2 separate regions of the Homo sapiens genome follow, and region 1 is linked to region 2. The links are contacts of gene promoters, found by promoter capture Hi-C in blood cells and fetal thymus (Javierre and others, 2016). All regions are on one chromosome and are shown on one strand. The core of a region is centred on a gene start or on the middle of the fragment in contact, and the rest is flanking DNA. Distances in the headings are between cores, read along the strand shown.

Region 1 (5,715 bases), core at 1,193-3,692, 140 kb after region 2:
AGTCCTGTGAACCACTCCAGCAATTCATCAAACCGGAGGAGGGGGTTGTGGGAACCCTGATTCATGGCAGTTCCGTCAGAAGCCACACCCGGGGCTTGCAACTGGCATCAGAAGTGGGGCCCCTTGCACGGGACTGAGCCCTCGATCTGTGGGATCTGACGCTACCTCCAGGCGGATGCGGTGGGAAATGACTTAAACCGTAGGATGCTCAGACAGTGTCCTGCAGCACTGCTTGGTGTGCAGGAAACAAGGCCCTGCCCACATCTGGTGCAAGAGTGCCTGTGGCTGTGTTGGGATGGGAAGAGCTCCTTGGTGTGTCCTGTATTGCTTGGTGTGTCCTGAGTGCTCCCTTGGTTCCGGGCCTCCTGATAGGCCATAGGCACCCAGGGTCCCCCTTGCCTGCTGTGGCCAGGCCTTGTCCTTCGGGGGTGCCACCCAAAGCTATTTGCAAATGCTTTCTGGTCAGCGGTGGATGTGGTTTCTTCTCATGCTAGTTGTTGCGCTGGGCACAAGGGGACCCCATGCTCCCTCCTGCTGGCTCCTTCCCTAACCTGCTGGGCGCATTCTGGGATCTGACCAAGGCGCTACCATTCAACCCCTTCTGAGCTGGCAACAGGAGTTTTTGGCAGGAATTCCCATTCCTGAGGGCACCCTGGGGATTTTCCAATTGTCCAGTTCTCTGGGGTGCATTTGCCTGGCATCCTGCGGGGCCGTTGTCCAGCCCGAGTTGGCAAATCCCTAAACGCCCCCAGAGCAGGGGCCTGACTCCTTTTTCACTCCTTTTCAGCTCCCGCATTAGGGAGGTTGCCTGTCCTGCCTCCACCTGTGTGGCGTGGGGAAGCTGATTTACAAACAGCAGAAGGGCCCCCGGCATGGGAAGAGTCCGGGCCAGGCAGCCTGCTCTGCCGGCTGGGGGACCGCCTGATGCAGGGGCCAGGCCAGGAGGTCCGCGGGGGCTGCTTTACAGCCCTCTGGGCAGCAAAGCAAGCTGGTCTCTGTGCAGCCCACTCCCTGCCATTCCCCACCATGCCCCTCCTATGTCCCTCCCATGCCCTGCCATTCCCCGCCATGCCCCTCCCATTCCCCCGCCATTTGCCGCCATTCCTCACCATTCCCCTCTCGTTCCCTGCCATTCCCCGCCATGCCCCTCCTATGTCCCTCCCATGCCCCTCCTATGTCCCTCCCATGCCCCGCCATTCCCCGCCATGCCTCTCCCATTCCCTCCCATTCCCTTCCATGCCCCTCCCATTCCCCCGCCATTTTTCGCCATTCCCCACCATTCCCCTCTCATTCCCCGCCATTCTCTGCCATGCCCTACCATGCCCCGCCATGCCCCTCCTATGTCCCTCCTATGTCCCTCCCATGCCCCTCCCATGCCCCGCCATTCCCCGCCATTCCCCACCATACCCCTCACATGCCCTGCCATTCCCCGCCCAGACCCTTGGTAACCTGGTCCCTGTCACCCATGCCCCGCTGGGCCCCTCACTGTTGCCGCTGGACATTAAACCCGCCAAGGGGCTTTCATGGGTTGCCCCTCTTTCTCCAGTGCTTCTTCACGCCACCTGGGACGTGGCCAACTTTTCTGGTGTCGGGATCATCTAACGCTCTTCCATGCACAAGAGTTCCAATGACCCACCCACCCAAGCTTCCTTCCCCCATCCCCTACCACTCCTCCAATACCCGTGGGTGCTGCCGGGAAGGGGCGTTGCAGATGTGCCGTGTGTCCCAGGTCAGCCGACCTTAGGGTCCGTGGATGCAGGTGGGCCTGGTCGAATCACGCCAGCCCTTTAAAAGCAGAAGAAGAGTCAGAGGCCAGGGAAGAGTGCTGTGGGGCCGTGCGAGATGGCAGCCTGAACGGTGGAGACCAGGTCCTGCTGACCGCCAGCAAGGAGACGGAGAATGCAGCTCTACAGCCGGGAAAAGAGTCTGCCATCCATCCGAACAGCCCTGGGCCTCCACCCAGGAGCCCAGCTGTCACACCTCAACTGCAGTCTGTGAGACCCCGCCCAGCCGAGCCCTCGCACTCCTACCCCTCTGGAGCTGCCAGGCAGTCAACAGGCACTGACCCACACTGTGGGGTTGTGGTGGCTCGTAGTGCAGCGAGGGCCCCAGCACGGGCATCTTCCCAGCACGGCTGCCAGCTCACGGTGGTCTCCCAGGCAACATGAAAGAAATGCATCAGGTAGCCCCTGGGCCCCAAACGTGATTTGCATTTCTGCCAAAAGCCAATCTTTTCTGACCAAGACCTGGGCCCTCCCAGTAGCACCTGAGTGGCCCCGTGGGCTGCCTGGGCCATGTCCCAGCTTGTTTCTGGGCAGGGCCCTTTCACATCGAGGTCTTTCCCCCAGTGACACTGTGACTAGAATCACAGGATTTCTGGATGAGGAATGTAATTTTGCAAAAACCTATACAGTTTCAGTCTTAGGGGCTTCTGTTTAGTGGCAACATTGGTGTCAATGGCATTAAATTAGGCGTCCCCTTGTTCACCGTAAAGCCAGCCTAGGGTCACCTGCACTTGTAACTTCCCAACAGCTTTGGAAGCAAGATGCCATTTGTGGGTTGGTGGGGGGCAGTCACTCCTCTCAGGGTAAAACCCCCACCTTTGCCACCTGCAGCAAGTGACGTATGGACCCACCTGGAAGCATTTGATCACAAGAGCTTGCAGCGTCTTGGGGACTGGTTCTTGGCCCTGACCATCACTTCCATGCAGTGGTATCTAGAATCAGTGGTGTGCCCGCCCCTCGCACTGATAATTTAGGAAACTGTGCCCATCCTGAGCCATCGGGCTTTGCCTGCCGCTCTCCCCAAATGTCCTGGCTCTTCTCAGAGGACCCTCGGGTTTCCGCAGCCGCCTGCCATGCCCTTCCACCCGCAGCATGGGTTTGCAGCCAGTCAGGTTTCTCAGCTGAGTTACTTTTTGGATGAATGTCACATCTGTTTAATTGGCCACTGGAGAGAGGAGACTGCACTGACCCGAGGACCGGGTCTGGTTTCTTTCTTGTGCCCCAGCTGCTTCTTCCAGTGGCCTTGTTTCTGTCTGGGTGTCAGTGGCACCTGCCATGGAAGAGCTGTTTCTCTCGCCTCCCTTGTGCCGGTCTTTGGCCAGCTCCCCGCCCCAGGTCGGCTTCCTCTCCGTCCCCTCGGTAAGGTGTGCTCCCTGTGGCCAGCCCCAAGGCTGTCAGCGTTTTGTATCAGGGACAGGTTGACAGCCACCTGGAGCCTCGTCCTCAGCAAGCTTCTCCCGCGCCCCCTTATCTTGCCTCAGAGAACCTCAGCTTAGATAATAAACAGCCATGCTGCTCGTGGTGCCCACCGGAGACAGCACGCAGAGCGGGATGGTCTCGTTTGCCTGGGAGCCAGGGGAAGCCAGGGGACCACTGGGACTGCCCACTCGCCGACCCCCACCCCCGTCCCTGACACATGGAGGCACGCTGCATCAAGGTTTAGGGTAGGAAGCTCCCCGTGGTACAGGAGGGGCAGCTCTTACCCAAAGGGGGCTCTTTCCGTTATGAAACTTTTTCCCTTTAAACTCTAGAAATTGCCAGAGGCACTGACATTTTCCAGTGGGCCGTGTGCCATAAGCCCAGATGTGTTTAATCCTGAACAGAAGGCTCTTCTGTGCTCACAGTCGACACCTCCAGGAGCTCTCATTAGCGTGTTTACAAGGACATTCTTTTCTTTTGTCTGATTTCTTTCTCCAAGAGCATCCCCAGGGGAGGATGGATGGGTTGCAAATGGTAACACTTTCCATGTGTGTACACGTGTGTGCATGTGTGAGGGTGTGTGTATACATATGTGAGGGTGTGTGGTGTGTGTGTACATTTATCAGGGTGTGTGTGAGGGTGTATGTACATGTGTGAGGGTGTGTATGTGTGTACATGAGTGTGTGGGCATGTGTATGCATGTGTGCCGATGTGTGTGTGTACATGTTTGAGGGTGTGTCCTCGTGCATATATGAGGGCATGCGTGTGCATGTACATTTGTGAGGGTGTGCATGTGTATGAGGATGTGTGTACATGTTTGAGGGTGTGTACATGTGTGAGGGCTGTGTACATGTGAGGGTGCGTGTGTATACATGTGTGAGGATGTGTGTACATTTGAGGGTGTGTGTGTACATGTGAGGGCATGTGTATGTGTGCATGTACATATGTGAGGGTGTGTGTACGTGTGGGTATGCATATGTATACAGTGTGAGGGTCTGTGTGTACATGTGAAGGTGTGTGCACATGTATGTGAATGTACGTGTGGGTGTGTGCATACATGTGTGAGGGGTGTGTACCTGTATGTGTACGTGGGGGGGTGGGGGGTACATGTGGGAGTGCATGTGTGCACGTGTGAGGGTGTGTACATGTGTGAGGGTGTGTGTGTGAGGATGCATGTGTACGTGTGACGTGTTACATGTGAGGGTGTGTTACATGTGTGGGTGCATGTACATGTGTGAGGCTGTACATGTGAGGGTGCATGTGTGTACGTGTGAGGGTGTGTACATGTGTGAGGGTGTGTGTACATGTGTGTGAGGGTGTGTACATATGTGGGTGTGTGTACGTGTGTGAGTGTGTGTGTGGGGGTGTGTGTACGAGTGTGCATGTGTACATGTTTGATGGTGTGTGCATGTACATGTGAGGGCATGTGTGTGCGTGTATGTGTGCATGTTTGAGGGGGTGTGCGTACGTGTGAGGGTGTGCATATGTATACATGTGCGAGGGTGTGTGTACATGTGTGAGGATGTGTGTACGTTTGAGTGTGTAAATGTGAGGGTGTGTGTACGTGTGAGGGTTTGTGTGCGTACATGTGTGAGGATGTATTAGGGTGTGCCTGTACATGCGAGGGCATGCATGTGTGCATGTGTGTGCATGTACATGTGTGAGGGTGTGTACGTTTGAGGGGGTGTGCGTACGTATACATGTGTGAGGGTGTGTACATGTGTGAGGGTGTGTGTACATGTGTGAGGGTGTGTGTACATGTGTGAGGATCTGTACGTTTGAGGGTGCATGTGTGTACATGTGAGGGTGTGTGTACATGTGTGAAGATGTATATGTGTTCAAGGGTGTGTGTGCGCACGTGTACACACGAGGGCATGCATGTGTGCGTGTGCATGTACATGTGAGGATGCATACATGTTTGGGGGTGTGTGCACGTGTGAGGGTGTGCATGTGTACACGTGTAAGGGTGAGTGTGTATACATGTGAGTGTACATGGTGTATTTGTACGTGTGTGTACATATGTGAGGGTTGTGTACATGTGAGGGTGTGTGCACATGTATGTGGGTGTGTGCATGGGTGTGTACGTTTATGGGTGCACGTGTACATGTGTGAGGTTGTGTGTACATGTGTGAAGGTATGTGTGTACGTGTGAGGGTGCATGTGTATGTGTGAGTGTGTACATGTGTGGGTGTATGTGTGTTTACATGTGTCATGGTGTATGTGTGTGGGGGTTTGTGTACATGTGAGGGTGTGTGCGTACATGTGAGGATGTGTACATGTGTGAGGTGTGTACATGTGAGTGTATACATGTGTGAAGGTGTACGTTTAAGGGTATACATGTGTGGGGGTGTGTACATGTGTGTGAGGGTGCGTGTGTGTATGAGTGTACGTGTGAGGGTGTGTGCACACGTGTGTACATGTGTGAGGGTGTGTGCTACGTGTGGGGGTGTGTATACATGTGTGGGGGTGTGTATACATGTGTGGGGTGCATACATTTGAGGGTGCATGTATG
Region 2 (5,625 bases), core at 2,489-4,988:
TGTTTCTAGCACAGCAAGGAGACGGCAGAAGCTGCTGGTGCAGCCCCCACTCCCTCCCACGGGGCAAAACCCCTGGGGGTTTCAGGGCACTCGGACATGGCTCCAGTGCCCAGGAGGCTTCCAGGCCTGTGGGGCTGGGGACTCATGCCTGGCTTTCTGGGCCTGGCTGCCCACAGCTGGTGGAGACAGGGCTGGGGGTAGCGCAACCCTGCAGGCTCAGGGGGCCTGGCCCCAGGCCCCTCCATGCTCCCCAGCCCACCCTCCACCTGGGCGTCAGTTTCTTATCCTGCAGAAACTGGCCTGCAGCCACCTCAGTGTGTGTCCTGTGCTGTGCCAAGATGATCTGCTGGGCTGTGCCCTCCCTCAGAAACTGTCCCCCTAGAGAAGTCACACCTCATCAGGCCTGGGGGGGTGCCAGGGCATGCCCTGAGTCTGCTGACCTCCTGGCCTTGTCTCTGGGCTTCTGTGTCCCCACTGGTAACGGGACAGGAGAACTCCTCTCAGCCATTGTACAGATGACATGAGAGGGCAAGGGTGGGCCCTGAGATTCTGACTAAGGGGTGAGGAGCACGGCCCTCAGGGGCATGGGCTGGAGGCCCAGCCACAGTGTGTGCTGCAGGGGCTTGGGATCCTTCCAGGTAGCCCCTGGCCAGGTCCACCAGGACAGGCAGCCCAGGCAGCCCACGGGCGCCCCTTCCCAGCCTCCTCGCAGTCCCTGGGGAGTTGCTCGGGACACCGCAGCGGAGACGGCAGGGCTGCAGGGGAGTGGATGCCAAGCTGCCTGGCTCCCTGCTCCTCTAACTCACCCTGGTCCTGGCTCCTTGGGGGAGCCCCCCGGACTCTCTGTCCCCATCTGAGTGCCCACCTGAGGGCCCCATGCAGCGCAGCTGCTCTCCACAAGCCTCAGTGGTCCCTTCAGCCACCAGGACTCTGACTCCCCAAGAGGGAGAACCCTGTGCCAGGTTGCCCCCATTCCTGGGCCAGGCACGGGCTCTCCAGGCTTGACCTATATGGGGCCTTGCCCCTGCTGTCAGCAGCTCATGTGCTGGGTTGGGCCACGAGGGCCGAGGCCAGGCCTCCTGTGGAACACCCAGCAGAGATGTAGCCTCAGGATCCCTGACCTCTGAGAGGGAGTAGAGCCAGGGGCACTATGGGGCTGGGACTCCCCCACACCTCAACTCCCAGAGCCTGCCATGTGACCATGAGGCCACAACATCAGGGGTGGAGCAAGGCTGGCGCTCTGTCCCTGCGAGTCCCGGGGGATCACACCCAAACCAGCTTGGCAAGGACTCTGGCTGCTCCACTTCCTGAATGACAACACACACTCAGAGGGGCGATGCCTTGCTCCTGGTCACGCTGGATCCAGATTTTGAGGCCACTTTCCCTCCTATACCTCAACTCAGGAAAGAAACAATGCGGGGAGCTGTCCCTAGGGAGCGAGAGCTCAGGCTTGGCCCCAGCCTCAACCACCGCTGCCCCAACCCAACCCGCGCCGAGCCCCTGGCCTGAGGGTGTGGGAACCCCAGCTGCTGAAGGAGCTGCATACAGGTGTCTGGAGGCGCCTCTCAAGTCAGCCAGCGTGGCAGGTCAGGAGGAGACAGGGCAGGGGACGTGAGGGCAGGGGATGCAGGGTGGAGGGCGCACAGCGGGCTGGGTGAGTACCATGTTGATGCCCATGGAGGTGAAGCTGAGGCTCGTGGTGCTGGGTTCCAGGTGTCCCCGGTGATGAGAGACTGACAGGGGACGGGACAGAAGGGGACTCCTGAATGTCCCCTAGGGCTGCCATCTTCCCTGAGACCTGCTGAAGGTGTCACACCTGGGACCTGGGGAAAATGAAAACCATGGCAGATGAGGGGATTGGGAGGAATGTCGGGGGGATGGTGCAGGAGGAGGCAACATGCCAGCTCTCCAAGGGGAGATGGAGGTTTATCCACTCCAGGAGGAGCAAGGATGGAGGATGAACCCACAGAGACACATAGGCCTGGGGTGAGGCAGTTGGGGGACCTGGCACATTTATTCAGTAAGGAATAACGCTTTGAGTGGCTGGGGACGGTGGCTCATGCCTGTAATCCCAGCACTTTGTGAGGCCGAGGTGGGTAGATCATGAGGTCAGGAGTTTGAGACCAGCCTGTCTAATATGGTGAAACCCCATCTCTACTAAAAATATAAAAATTAGCTGGGCGCAGTGGCGGGCACCTGTAATCCCAGCTACTTGGGAAGCTGAGGCAGGAGAACAGCTTGAAATCAGGAGGTGGAGGTTGCAGTGAGCCGAGATGGCGCCCCTGCACTCCAGCCTGGGAGACACAGCAAGACTCAAACAACAGCAGCAGCAGCAGCAGCAGCAAAGGAGTAACGCCTTGGAAGGCGCGCTTAGGAAGCAGCCACCGCCTGGGCGGCACAGCAGACGCCTGTGGGGGCTGAAGCGAAGCTCCTGTCCCAGCAGAGGCTCTGGCATCTCCTTCCAGCCCGTGGCATCACCCCTCCCCCAGAGAAAGGCATAGGGAGTCTTCCAGAAAAACCTCAGCTGCTGGCCCTGTGGGAGGGCTGAAAACCGAACCATGCCTGCTGCGCATGAGTGTTTTGGAGGAAATCTTAATAAGGTTTTTCCCGAACAGCAGAGAAGAGACGTTTCCAGAGGGCAACTCTCTTCCTCAGACCCTACAGAGCCCTCAGAGACTGCAGGCTGGAATCCCCTAGTCCAGCCCTGCAGCAGCACTGGGAGACTCACTCAGGGCTCCAAGACACTTCTTAGTTTACTTTGCAAAAACGGCTTGAGTCCAATGTGAAAAGTGACTTTTCTTTCATACTGTGATAGAGTAGGAACTCCTAATCTGGGGCAGGGAGTGAAGAAAGGAACGGGAAAAGAGGACAAAAGTTAACGGATACTCAGATCTAAGAACAGCAGACAGTGCCTGCTTCGAGGAAGTGGGAGAGGCAGCTCCCACACGGCCGCCACCCCAGTGCCCGGCTTCTGGGCCAGCCTCCATCCCCTAATGATGGGAAGGGTCAGGTCACCAGGTAGGTGGCCACTGGGTGCAGGTCCTCCACCCTGAAGTCACATCTCAAGTTACTTAGTTAACTTACTGGGGACACCTGGTAAAAGGGCCTGCTCGATCACCCCGACCCTGGCTTGGCCCCCAGGACTGAGCAGAGGCGACCATCACAGCGTGGACGCCCCTTCACCCCCAGGGACGCACAAACTCTGAGCTCCAGACTGAAGGGGGAAGGGCACTCCTGCCAGCGGCTCGGGGGAAGCATCCTCTGCCCCTCTGTTCCCAGCCCCGTGGGAGCGGACCCAATCGCCGGGAGCTCGGCACAGAGCGCGTCCGCCCGGCGGTGCGGCGCTGGGGTCCGGCGGCTCCTCGCTCCGGAGCGGCGGGACCTCCGGGCCTCAGTTTCCCATCTGCAGAGTGGCGATGACGACAGCTGCCGTCACTGGGTGCCTGGGAAAGGCGCCCTGCGAACGGACACCCGCTATCGCCAGGGCCGCTGGGCGGGGCGGTCCGCTGCTGCTCCGCGACCCCCAGGAGCCCACCCCGCTCCCCGGGCTTGGCCCAAGGCCAAGGTCACGGCGAGCGGCGGCTGCAAGGGCCGCACGGCCCGGCTGGGCAGGGCTGCACCGCGGAGTACGGCGCACGAGCTCGGACTGGGCTGGTCCCAGGCACCCGGAGCCGCCGCCGCCGCCCGCGCCCACTCACCTTCCGAGCGGGAGGAGGACGCCGCGCGCCGGACGGAAGTGTCCGGCCCCGCCCCACTCCGCCCGGCCGGCGCGCACTTCCGGGACGCTCTGGGCCCCGGGAGGACCGCACGCCTCGGTGGCCGTGTGGGGGCGGGGCCGGGAGCGAAGAGGAGGCCTTTCCCCGCCCCTCCCCTCGTGGGCTGCGCCCGCGCGTGGCTTTCGCGTACACGCTGGCCCGGATCCCGCCCGCGCCTGCAAAGCGCCCGGGCGCGGGGAGCGGCGCTGCGTGGGGCGCAGAAGCCGGCGCCTCGGAGCCTCCTTCCCGACGCCGGCCCTGCACCGCCCGGGGAGCCAGCGCGGGGCCGGGCTTCGGGAGATGACGGCGCCGTCCCCACGCTGCCCGCGGCCCCTCCGTGCACTCCAGGCCTCCGGGGGTCCTCGGCTGGAGTTGCTTCCACGTTCAGCTCGCGAGTCCCCCCCGCCGCCCTCTTGGGTTCCCTCCTCGGGATGTGTCCGCAGCGATGGTCACCGGCGGCCGGGAACCGCTGCGAGACGCGCGACCTCCCGCTCCCCTCGCGGGGGCCCCAGCGCCCTCGATTCTGCCTGCTTTCCAGGGGCGTCCCCGGGAGCCTGAGGAGGATGTTACAGGTTCCCCAAAGCCCCTTCATGGACTCCTTCCTCATTTTCCTCTTGTTCAGCCACAGTTTCTCCCTCAGTTCTGTGCTTACGACCTGAAAAGAGAAAATTGTCACTTTCTGGGAAAAATAAACGGCCGGGGAGGGTTCTTTGACCGTTTTGAGCAGGGGTGCAGAGAGCCGAGGCGAGGGGACCCCTGAGCTGGAGGGGCACGCGGAGCAGAGGGCGGGGGGGCCTGCAGACGGGCAACAGCTGCCAGGGTGGACGCTCAGGGCTGTGTGGGTGGAGGAGCCCCCAGGCTGATAATATGTAAAAATCTCTAAACTCTACCGCAAGAAAACAAACATTCCAGTTAGAAAATTGGCAAGAGCCGCAACAGACGTTTGACCGAAGAGGGCACAGGGATGGCAATAGGCTCGGGAAGGGATGGCTGTCAGGGAAGGGCCGGCCAGCATCGCGGTGGGTGCCACTGCACACTTGCCAGGTGGCTCAGGTAAAAACTGCTAACAAGTGCCAAGCATCACTGAGGTCGCGGAGCAGCTTGGGACATCGCCAGTGGTAAGGCAAAGTGGTGCTGCCATTCTAGAAATTGGCTTGGTAGTTTCTTAAAAAGTTATAAGTAGCGCCGGGCGCAGTGGCTCACGCCTGTAATCCCAGCACTTTGGGACACTGAAGTGGGTGGATCACCAGAGGTGGGGAGTTTGAGACCAGCCTGACCAACAGGGAGAAACCCCATCTCTACTAAAAATATAAAAAAGCTACCCGGACACGGTGGCGGGCACCTGTAATCCCAGCTACTTGGGAGGCTGAGGCAGGAGAATCACTTGAACCGGGAGGCGGAGGTTGCATTGCGCCGAGATCGCGCCACTTCACTCCAGCCTGGGCAACAGAATGAGACTCTGTCTCAAAAAAAAAAAAAAAAAAAAGGAACTAGTACTATATCTGATACTGTTTGGAAGTGAGCCCCCTGCACATCTCATGGAAATGTGGCCCCTGATGGTGGCGGTGGGACCTGGTGGGAGGCTATTTGGGTCATGAGTAGCTTGGTGCCCTCTCCTTGGTGATGAGTGAGAGCTGGCTGTTAAAAAGAGCCTGGCGCCTCCGCCCCTCTCTTGCTCTGGCTCTTACCAAGTGACGGATGCCCTGGCTCCCACTTTGCCTTCTGCTGTGAGTAAAAGCTTCCTGAGCCCTCCCCAGAAGCCTCTTCTTGTACAGTATGACCAGGGACAGCAGCACCCTCTGAACGCTGATCTGAACTGTGAGCCAAGCAAACCCCTTTTGTTCTTTATTTACTTTTGAGATGGAGTTGC

Evidence for each region. Contacts are between HindIII fragments. The CHiCAGO score rates a contact against its expected background, and 5 or more counts as called.
Region 1: a contact is called between a fragment that was not itself captured here and the fragment with the promoter of GLI4 in region 2, in 2 of 17 cell types (total CD4 T cells and total CD8 T cells). The highest score is 6.3, in total CD4 T cells.

Annotation. Positions count from the first base shown.
Region 1 is chr8:143,123,272-143,128,986 of GRCh38, reverse strand. No RefSeq gene overlaps it. Among named protein-coding and RNA genes, the nearest start is that of LY6H, 34 kb to the left of the region's middle. RefSeq lists an enhancer at 1,534-2,093. The HindIII fragment of the contact is 1,590 bases long and covers 1,648-3,237 here.
Region 2 is chr8:143,265,558-143,271,182 of GRCh38, reverse strand. It overlaps GLI4 (GLI family zinc finger 4), which reads right to left and starts at 3,738. Exons shown (of 4, transcript NM_138465.4): 1 at 3,699-3,738; 2 at 1,663-1,823. The coding sequence starts at 1,786. RefSeq lists enhancers at 1-298, 1,084-1,273, 1,900-2,722 and silencers at 3,283-3,402, 3,563-4,272. The HindIII fragment of the contact is 18,516 bases long and covers 1-5,495 here.